Regions from separate parts of the Homo sapiens genome. Here all the other regions are linked to region 1. The links are contacts of gene promoters, found by promoter capture Hi-C in human tissues and cell types (Jung and others, 2019). All regions are on one chromosome and are shown on one strand. The core of a region is centred on a gene start or on the middle of the fragment in contact, and the rest is flanking DNA. Distances in the headings are between cores, read along the strand shown.

Region 1 (2,700 bases), core at 153-2,652:
CATGATATTACAATGCTGAGAATTTACCTCCATTTAGTGGTTTCAGTAATTGTTATTTTCTTTAATGGAAAATCACTCAGTGAAATTGCAGGAAAGAGGTTATTTATCTGAGTCATATTTTTATGAAAACTGTTTTTCACTTCCTTGCATTTTTAGAAGTGTTGTCTTTAAAAGGATATTCTATTAATATTTATAATTAGACATCACACAAAACAGATGCTAAATCTTATGCTATAACTTCTGGATAAAATTACATAAAGATTATGTACTTTTTGGCATAATATTCCCTCAGGAAGCTGTAGAACAAAGGACATTCTCCATGAAGATGCCATTTCTTTTTTTAATAGAAGGAAATAATAAGGCAGTGATTAACCACGATTATTTTAACTACTGTAACGTTTGCAATTAAGTGGGCAGCGCAGGAGCTCAATAAATACTTAATTGATTTACTTTTTTCTCTCCTTGACCCACATCGCAATTCACCCACTCACGCCGCTATCCCTATTCTAACTTTGAAACCAAGTGGATTCTCTCTGTTTTCAGTTTGTGGAAGCGTGGTGCTCAGCCTGTGTGGAGGGGCCTGGCTTCCAAGTGTACTTGGGGTGGAACCTGGGGACTTTACCGAGGGCACAGGTCAGGAGATGAGATTCGTTTCGCTTTTTGAATTACCTTTTGGCCTGTACCAAGATGAACTGGTGGGATATATAGTGTCATCGAACCCGGGAGAGTTGTTGTGGAGGTGAGGAAACAGCTCTGAGGGATAACGGTTTGAAAGTAGTGGCGCTGGGGACGAACATGGGTCCCTGCGAGTCTGAGACTCTCTATTGCCCCCATCTCCTTGCTGCCGATTACTTCTTCAAAAATTCTCCTAGGGACCCTGAGGAGGGACGGGAGAGGTCAGCAAACCCTCTGTCCACCAACTTGATTTCCTGTGATACAAAGTGTCATGAGTTCTCCTGCTTTCCTCCCTTAAAAAAGACAAGATTAGGAACAACGGCTGGCAAGAGAGGAGGGGAAAGCTTAATTCTCCACAGATGCTGCGCAAGGGAACCAATGGGTCACGCCCACTCACGGGTGGCCGCCTCTCTGTTCCATCCCGGGGATGTTGGGCTTTCCCCTCGGTCCGGGGCGAGCGCACTTCCCACCCGGAGACTGAGCGGGCAGCACTCGCAGGCCAGGAGCGCGTTCCGGGAGGCGCCGGCGCCTCCCCGCGGCCTGGGCGCACGTGCCTGGGCTGGGGCCGGAGCCCGCGGTCGCGCCGCGCCGTAGTAGCTGGGGCGGGTGGGAGCGGCTGGCTCCGGGCCGCGGCCGCCGCCCGCCCGCCGGCTCCGGTGGTTGGGCGGAGGAAGCGCGGGACTCCTCCTCCCCACCGTATTAACATGCACCCAGGGGCGGGTCACCAGCCCAGCCTTGCAGCCCCAGCCCGCCGCGTCCCGGCGCTCAGCCTCCGCTCCAGAGGCGAGCGCTGCGCTTCGGGCGCCGCAATCTCCAGGACACGGCCTCGCGGACACCTTCCGCCTCGGGGAATCGGCAGCATAGGCGGCGCGAACGGCCGCCGCCGCCTCGGCTCCTCTCTCGAGTCCTTCCCGTCACCTCGCTGAGAGCCGGTCCTGGTCGCGGGGACATCTCTCTCCTTCCTCCGAGGCTCGTGGGACCAACGGACGGACGCAGCCAGCGAGGGCCGGACTGCGGGACGCGGCCAGGTAACGCCGGGCTGCGCCGCGGGGCTGGGGCGTGCGCGGCGGCGGCGGTCGCGGCGCGCTGGGTGGCTCCTGGCTGCTGCCTGCCGCGCGGTCGCCGCTTCCCTCGCCCGCGGAGGGGCTGCGGGCTGGGCTCCCCCGGCCGCTGGCTCGAGAGTCCGCGCTCCTTACCCTTTCAGCCGCCCGGGGTGCACTCCCGGGCCCTCCGGGTAACCTGGGATCTCGGGGGCGAGCGCGTCCTCTCCGGCCATGCGGTCCTCGCGGCTCCCCACGGGGACCCAGGCAGGGGAAGGATTTCTAATTGCGACAGGGTCCCGGAAGGGGGAGGGGAGGAGAACACCGGTCCCCTGTCCCGGTCATGTCCACCGGTCAAATTCGCACCCCCACCCCACCCCCGATGCACCTTGCAGGGGAGGAGGGGGCTGCTCCCCGCAGGGCTTTCTCGGCAGGCTCCTGGGTCGTTTGCAAAGCAAGTTGTTGCACTAGCTTTTTGGGTGACATTTTGGCATTGTGGAAAAGGACCAACTCCCCCGTGCGTTTGTAAGAGAAAGCCAAAGAAACAGAGACACAAAGACAGGCACAGAGAGAGAGAGAGAGAGAGAAATGGGGTCCAAGGAGGAGGTCACTGGAGAGTCGCCCCCTGCCCGCGGCCAAGGCCAATTCCCGGAGAATCGCGGGGCGGGCCGGGAGACCCGACATTCAGCGAATTGAATGAGCCGGGCTGGAACCAAGGCCAAACAGGGACCTCTCCTCTGGGCTGGGCGAGATAACACATTGCACTTTCATTGAGGGGCGGCTGCAGCTGGGAGAGGCACCTTCGGAGGGCCCGCGGCGATGAAGACCCTGCTTTCAGGACTTCGGCTGCTGCGCTTTTTGCGGAAGGCGCGCTGTCCCGGCCTCGCTGGGTGGCACCGGGAGGCCGTGGGAAGGGGTGGCCCGTGGCTCGGCTGCCGGCGCCGGAGACACTGAGTGCCTGTGTCCGAGTGCCGCGCTCGCCCCC
Region 2 (2,700 bases), core at 108-2,607, 150 kb after region 1:
TAAAAAAAAACTCACACCCAAGAAACTGGAAAGTATCTTCTGAATGAGGAGTCTCATTTCCCACAGGAACGATTCTAACCCAACCAAATCCTGGTATAAGTCCTTCACAGAAGTATCTCCTAGGTGAGGTCAGAGCCTAGGTCTTCTAACAAAATGTGTTAATTGAAGCTTTCCCATTTCTCCTGCAATTGAATTAGATACAAAAATATGGCTAGATCACACAATATTTAGTCCTCAAGTCTAGCCTGGAGTGGGAAAAATTATTTCATAATATCACCAGTGTCCAAGAAGCCACTCACACTGAAGCAGAGCGGATACTCAGGCCCTTCTCTAGAGGTGGAGAAGAGATGGTGTAAGAGAAAGAAGCTAAACATTATCTCATCTGAATTTCATTTTCAAAAAGCCTGTGGAGCCTTTTTTACTCTTTGACTATTAATGCCCCCATTTGATACATAAGAAAACTGAGGTTTAGAAATGCTAAATAAGTTGTCCTAGGTCACTAGGGGAGGAAACTTCTGGAGTGAGAATTTGACCTCATTCCTAGAAATCCGAAGCTGTCACTTTTTCTCTAAGACATCATGTTGCTTCCTTGGCTTTTGTAATTACAGCATCTTTCCTTCTCCACTGACAGTGGGCATTGGACTAAGGAAGAAAAAAAATGGGCTAAACGATTTTTTATTTCTCTTTGTATTTCAGTTCTGTGATTAAAGTTTCGGGGAAGATAGAGGCTCTTCTTAGTGCTTAGTTCATCCTGACTCAGCCTTCCAGAGCTGACCTCCTCATCCATGCCCCCTCCTTCTACTGTTCTAAATCCCATCAAATCTGCAAACTCTGCAAATTCTCTTGCACTCTCTTGCTTTTGAAACCTCCCTCAGCATTTTAAAACTTTTCTCACCTGACCCACAAAATTCAGCACTGGCTTATCTTCCGCCATATATTTAGTGCTATTGCTATGTGCGCTCTTTCCATTTCCCCAAGCGGTTTGAAGGCCTGAAGTACATGTATGATACTGTAAATTTATCCTTGAACCCCAAAGCACAATGCTGAACAAAGTGTGTATTCTCAATGGATGCTATCACCAGAAACTGTACAGGTAACCAAGCCCTTAGTTGAAAGCAAAGCCATGTGTGTTGTCATGTCTTACCTACCTACCTACATCTTACCCGATAACTGTAGAGGCCTACAGTGTATGGAATATTTCTATAGGCGTTATTTTATTTTATACTGCATCAAATATATTTATATGACTTAGTTGTTATAATGACCACAAGGTGTTTACTTTTCAATCCGCTTGTTAAGGAATGAAGCAATTACATTTGTTGTTCTGGCCTCTGTATCTTTAAAGGGCTTGGATTTCACACGTCTTACCATTTAGTAACTTATTTTAGCTTGGCTGGAGCTTTTAAAAGATGAAGTTCATTTTATTTGGCAAAGGGTAGAATAGCAGCTTCTTCGCCTGAGGCTTTGTGTTGTTAATTAGATTTGCCGCCAGCTCTTCACATAGAAATTGAAGTTGTTCCGGTTTTTCTTCCCCTTTCCTACTTGAGTCTCAATCATAGACCTACTACTATTTGTACCAATTTAAACCTTTTAATTTAATTCTTTGTCAGGTAAGTTTGGGGGTAGTCCTTGTGTTTTTATTGTTAATCTGATGGAAAGGTTTTATGATTTTCCTATATCTGAATGAAATTGGATGTTTAAAGTTATACGTATGGTACAAAAATAATTCTTTCCATAATTGGAGTTTTCTAGTTAAATTTATCTTCCATGAAGTTGAAAATGTCACTGGAGCTATTACAGCTTGTAATACACAGATTATTTTAAAGAGCAGCCATTAGATACAGTAGTTTTGATCACTGTTTCATGATTCTAGCATATTTATCATATTTATTAGATATTTTTATGTAGCTCAAAATAAGTTTATGTTTATTAAGTCCTGGTAGAAATCAGTACAGTTATAGAGTACCTCTGCATGGTTGCAGATATTTGGTAGAGCAAAGGCAGAGGGCAGTGAGTAGAAACTTGCGCTGTAGGGCAGGAGAGAGTCTTTGGGTCACCCAGTCACCAATTATCAGACAAGCAGTCTTCCTCAAGTGACTTAGTCCCTATAAGCCTCAGTTTCCTCTTGTGCATAAGTGAACAACAGTAGTGCCTTGCTCATCAGTTTGTGGTAACATTCAGATGGGATGACAGGTGTGAAGTGTAGTACAGGGACAGGTATAAAGCAAACCCTCGGCCGGGCACGGTGGCTCATGCCCGTAATCCCAGCACTTTGGGAGGTGAGGCAGGGGAATCACCTGAGGTCAGGAGTTTGAGACCAGCCTGGCCAATGTAGCGAAACCCCATCTCTACTAAAAATACAAAAATTGGCCAGGCGTGGTGGCGCATGCCTGTAATTCCAGCAACTCGAGAGGCTGAGGCAGGAAAATAGCTTGAACCCAGGAGATGGAGGTTGCAGTGAGCTGAGATCATGCCACTGCACTCCAGCCTGGGTGACAGAAAAAGACTCTGCCTCAAAAAAAAAAAAAAAAAAAAAAAAGTAAACCCTCAAGTTTGCTACCTGAGGGACAGAGTGCTGGCGGGGCAGAGTGCAGAGACTGCAGGCCCTGCCGCCTGGCTCTGCCGTGTTCTATTTCTGTGGCTGGTGCACTGTTTCTCTAAGCCTTAGTTTCTTCCTCTGTTGAAAGAGATCATATTACA
Region 3 (2,700 bases), core at 30-2,529, 170 kb before region 1:
TCTAATTTTAAACATTGAAATAAATGTGAGCTATACACACATTTAAGAAAGATTAAGAAAAACAAGAAAGATCATTAATACCCAAATGTTTCAGTTCAGAGTCATAGGTGGCCGAGCCTGTCCTGGCAGATCAGGGTGTAAGGCGGGGCCAGGCCTGGACAGGATACCACCCTTGCAGGGCCACTCAGTCACACACACCCCATACTCACTCACACAGCTTTGGGATGTGGGAGGTAACCAGAAGAAAGCCCACAGAGATGCGAGGAGAATGTGCAAACTCCACACAGACAGTGGTCCTGGTCAGGAACCAGTTTGTTTTTTCTCATCAATATTGTTATGAAACAACCTTATCCTAGGACCTGCTGTAAACTGATAAGGTCTATTCATCAAGATCACTGGTTTTATGTTTAGCCATGTGTGTACCCATACACTCACATATATGTATAGACATATATTTACATATATGTATGATCTTGATACATTCTCTCAAAATAGCCCTATAGTCACTTTTGTGTCTTTACCTAATAGCCTCTTGATTCCAATGCAGCATGCCCTAAATTACATTCAGAATTTGGCCTCCCAAACTCACGTCGCCTCCAGGGTTCCTCATGTTTGTTAATGGCAACGCCATTCCACTATTCATGGTTATGATCTGCAATTCACTTCTAATTTTGGCTCTTCACTTACTCCTCATAGAAAATTATTCCAAGTATTGTTAGTGTTTCGTCCCTAATAGACACCACAAGCAACCCTTTTCTCAACTCTTTATAGTCCCAGTTCATACTGCCTGTCTTTTATATTATCACAGATTCAGGTATATATGCACATATATTCAGGTATATATACCTGAATCACACAGTATACATTTTTGCTTTTCAGGAAATTTATATTTAGTCTCTATTGGGGATTGAGAGTGTGAACACTTGGTAGAACATGGTCAATAATTTTTAAATTGGGGTTGAAAAGCCTCGTTTTCTTTCAAAATTTCCCAAAGCAGTGAAACACATTACTTTTAAGAAGGATAGAAGGTTAGGCAGATGTGAGGAGGGAGAGTGGGTGTTTGAGGCCATTGTTATTTCTGTGAGCTACTGACTGAAGAAAGAATATATTTAAAAGAGCAAGTAGGAACATCACAGCCTAGCCTAGAACAGAAGCTCCCACCTCTTCATCCTTCACCCTCTTCTTTAGAACATCTGCCAACTTCCGATACAACTAGCATCTGTGTCTGTGGCTCACCTATGGAGGAGGAGATGATCTTCAAAACTATGCTGAGAACGTTTTTCCCGCCTCTCCCAACTCCAACTAGGTCACTTTCTGCCTTTCCATTGTTTTTGCAAACCAAAAACGCCTCAGGAATAACAGGGTGAAATGTACGTGTGAGCAGTCCAGAGCCCTGCAGTGCAGTGTGACATGAATTCACAGTCCCACCTTAGCCTCGTAACCTTCACCTTTATGAGCACCTCAGGTTAGAGTGTGGGGTAGGGAACTGGGACATGAAGTCTGGTTTTAGTTACAAAGAGAGATTGTCTTCCTTTATAATTAATTTCAAAATAGAATGAACATATCAGATATAATTTGCTGTACTCACATCTTTTGGTTATTCTGAAGGGGACTTTCCCTTGCCCATGGTCCTCACCACTCAAGACTTAGTAATAAGACAAGCTTCCATTTTTAAGGCGATATCTACACCAGACACTATATGTAAAGTATCTTTTTAAATACATAAAACAATCTTGTGAAGTACATATTACCCTCTTCTTTTAATTGATTTTTTTAAAGACTGAAATATTTAATAGTAGGGCTGTTTTTAATTCAAGGAAGAGTATCTGTTTAGAGACATCAAGTGCTTTCCTTGAGATTGACTAAAAAGAAAGATGCCTGCTATATCTGGTTCTGTTCAGCATTGCACTGGAAGTCTTGGCCAGGGCAATAAGACAGAATAATAAAGTTTTAAGAATTGAAAGGACAAAATAAAAATGTTATTATTGTGTTTGAATATTTAGAGAATGCAGAAGAATCTAGAGATACATTATTAAGTATTTAGGAATATTACGTCCTAAAGTATGCACGTTTTGACCAAAAAAAGAAACTATAAAACTGTAGTGAAAGAAATATCCAAAGAAATGGGGAGAGGGGATAAACCATGTTTATGGATTGGTAGATTCAATATTGTAAATGTTGTCAAATTGACTCGTAGTTCCAGTGTGCAATTTTAGTCAAAATCTGAACTTTTTATTTAATATAAACTATTTTTTGGTGGAGCTTGAAAGGTTGATTCTAAAATGTATATGAAGTACAATGATAGAAAATAGTGAAGAAACTCTGGAAGAGTTGAGAAGAGAGGACCTGCTATACTGCCAGCATTTAACATAAAGCTACAGAAATTAAAGTGCGGTCCTGGCACAAAGACAGAAGAACCAAGTAAAGCAGAATAGAAACAGATCCCAGTGACCATGGACACTTGATTTATGATAAAGGTGGCACTGCAGAAGTGGGAGAGAAAGATAGTCTTTTTGAGAAATGATGCCTGAACTGTTCGCTATCCATACTGGAAAAAAGAAAAAACTATCCTCTACCTTACTTCATGCACACACACAAAATCAATTTATGTTCATAGTAGACCTAAGGAAGAAAATCAAAATAATAAATCTGTTACAAATATAGAATAATCTTTATTATCTCCAGATAGAAAATATTTTT
Region 4 (2,700 bases), core at 88-2,587, 250 kb after region 1:
GTTATCCATTATGATAGCCATGAGTCACATGTGGCTATTGAGCACTTGAAATGTGGCTAGTGCCTCTGAGGAACTGAATTGGTGTATTTATTTTTCATTGACATTTAAGGCTGGGCATGGTGGCTCATGCCTATAATCCCAGCAGTTTGGGAGGCTAAGGCCAGAGGATCACTGAAGCCCAGGAATTTGACTTTACTGTGAACTGTGATCACACCACTGCATGCTGGCCTGCGTGACAGAATGAGACCCTGTCTCAAAAAGAGAAAGGAAAGAAAGAAATGTAAATGGCCACAGGTAGATAGTGGCTATCATATCAGATAGTGCAGGTCCAAAGGATACAATCTACAATCATTGGCATAACCTGCAAGATCCTTCACAGACCAACCATAGCTTCTCATCGCCCCCTCCTATCCCATCCACTTAGTGCCATATGCCGTAGACACACACCACCATGGCACCCCTTCAGATCTCCTAAAGGACCACTTGTTCTCACCTACTGTGTATGTGTGCTGGTTTGTATGTGGTTTTTTCTGATACTACTCTTTCTCCTCTTAACCTCCCGAGAACATCTACAAATCCTGAAAGGCCATGTTCACATGTGACTTCTGAAAAGCTTCCTATTACCTCCTCAGGCATCTGTCAACATGCTTTTCAGGGTTCCCACAGCAACTTGTATATTCTGCACTGAAGCACTGAAAGTACTCCCTGGTAATTATTTGTTTTCTTGTCTGTTATCTTTAATCTTAATTTTCCCCTTAAGCAATCAGTTAGAAAGCAGATTTCAAAATTATTATGTATGATGGATAGTTAATATGTTGGGGGGAAGAAGAGTCAAGCCAAAGTTCAAATGGATTATGAAAGAAAACAAACCACAAAAAAAAAAAAAAATTGGGAAAAGGCTCACCTCAGTTACCACCACTGAATACTTCCGTGCATATAAGTCTTTTGAGGGAACTTAAGGAAAGGAATTGACTTTGACCTTCATGGAACATCCAACATGTCCCTTTACAATTCTAAACTGAATTTTTTTTACCTCTTACTTCATCTACATTTCAAATGTATTCCTGTTTGATGTCAAACCTCTTAAAACTAATTAAGTAATAGATTTTTCAATTGAGCACACCATATATCTTTCAAGGTTAAGCAAGAATAAAACACTTTGCCTGGATTTTCCACTGTGAAATTGATGGTGAGGAGGGAGGGTGTTTTTAATGTGATGCACTGCGGTCAGAAAAAAAAACAAAAACAAAAAAAAAACCACAACAGTCCTGTCAGTTAAAACTGCTAGATACAGCCATCCTTATGAATGTTTTATAATCATTGTAAAAGATCAAAGTGAATTAATGATATTTTTGAAATTTCCTGAGAAAATGACTTCCTGCCCATTGAGTTGTCTTGGCAAGATTCCCACCTTTTGAGCTTACTGGAGAATGAAAAGAATAACAACCTTCTTGTCCTGATTTTATGGAAAGCGAAGCAATCTGCTGTGTTTTTGAGGCTGCTGTTAGTACCATTTTTTAAAAAGAAGATTATCTTAAAAGAGTTTGCTCCTTAGTACCTATTCAAACTCTTCTAGTTTTATTGACACTATTATGTACAGACAGTTGAAAGAATTATGGCGATTAAGCCGAGTTAAATATTATAGAAGATGAATGCATAATGACTGGGTTTCTGTTACTTCCTATTTTCACAATGAAGAGTTTTGTAGTCAACCAGATTTAAAATTATGGACCATGTGTTATTTGACAGTCAAATCTAGAAGCATGGTAAATCCTAAGCTTCTTGTGTTTGCGGAGATGCTACCAGGAAAGCATTTTGAAAAACAGCTGAAGCATTAATTCAGTGCCTCCTCTTCTGAGTTCTTTCTGACCTCCTCGGGCTGAGTAGGAAGCTGCTCTTCTGTGCCTCAAAGCACCCTGTGTTCATATACATTTATTACTGAACTTACTGAGTTGTGCTGTAATTAGATGTGTATATTTCTGCATTTCCACTGACCTATGAACTTCCAAAGCCAAGTACCATGTTGTATTAGTCATCATTGTGTTCCCCTGAGCCTAGCATGTTACCATGAACCAGAGAGGCCCTCAGGAAATGTTTCAGGGAGGGAGAAAAGGAAGAAAGAGTGGTTGTTTTCTGGGCCTGACTGAGTCAGAGCATGTTCTCAGGAAGTTTTATGAGATCTAAAAGCTTAAATGCCCCTACGTTTTAAGATACCTTAAAGCTAAAACATGTGTCAAAGTAGAAGCCCAAATAAAAGCTCATGGCAAACAAAATTGTGTTTTTAAAAGATTAATTGATATCTGCTTCTATATTAAAGATTTGAAAAATGGAACTCGATTCTACCCGTTCTTAAAATATTTCCTCATGACAAATGTGGGCCCTTAGAAAATATTTAATGAATATTTCAAGGATGCATTCTTGCAACTAGAGAGTATTTTATACTATATTTATGCTTTAAAATAACACACTTTTATAAGAGTATCTTTTTTTTTTTTTTTTTAATCTCTCTGTTGCCCAGGCTGGAGTGCAGTGGCGCGATCTCATCTCACTGCAACCTCCGCCTCCCGGGTTCAAGCAAGTCTCCTGCCTCAGCCTCTCAAGTAGCTGGGACTACAGGCACCCGCCACCACGCCCAGCTAATTTTTTGTATTTTTAGTAGAGACAGGTTTCATCATGATGGCCAGGCTGGTCTCGAACTCC

What was found. The method cuts DNA at HindIII sites, captures the fragments that hold promoters and counts their contacts. A contact is called where the count stands out against the background at its distance.
Region 2: a contact is called between a fragment that was not itself captured here and the fragment with the promoter of DLGAP1 in region 1, in 2 of the 25 tissues and cell types used here (dorsolateral prefrontal cortex and lymphoblastoid cells).
Region 3: a contact is called between a fragment that was not itself captured here and the fragment with the promoter of DLGAP1 in region 1, in 1 of the 25 tissues and cell types used here (lymphoblastoid cells).
Region 4: a contact is called between a fragment that was not itself captured here and the fragment with the promoter of DLGAP1 in region 1, in 3 of the 25 tissues and cell types used here (H1 embryonic stem cells, dorsolateral prefrontal cortex and hippocampus).

The regions. Positions count from the first base shown.
Region 1 is chr18:4,454,009-4,456,708 of GRCh38, reverse strand. It overlaps DLGAP1 (DLG associated protein 1), which reads left to right and starts at 1,402. Exons shown (of 13, transcript NM_004746.4): 1 at 1,402-1,703. RefSeq lists a silencer at 1,253-1,382. The HindIII fragment of the contact is 8,504 bases long and covers 8-2,700 here.
Region 2 is chr18:4,307,549-4,310,248 of GRCh38, reverse strand. The region is part of intron 1 of DLGAP1 (DLG associated protein 1); the gene reads left to right. Among named protein-coding and RNA genes, the nearest start is that of DLGAP1-AS5, 44 kb to the right of the region's middle. The HindIII fragment of the contact is 5,265 bases long and covers 1-2,700 here.
Region 3 is chr18:4,626,186-4,628,885 of GRCh38, reverse strand. No RefSeq gene overlaps it. Among named protein-coding and RNA genes, the nearest start is that of DLGAP1, 170 kb to the right of the region's middle. The HindIII fragment of the contact is 3,541 bases long and covers 1-2,700 here.
Region 4 is chr18:4,203,066-4,205,765 of GRCh38, reverse strand. All of the region lies in intron 1 of DLGAP1 (DLG associated protein 1), which reads left to right. Among named protein-coding and RNA genes, the nearest start is that of DLGAP1-AS5, 60 kb to the left of the region's middle. The HindIII fragment of the contact is 4,142 bases long and covers 1-2,700 here.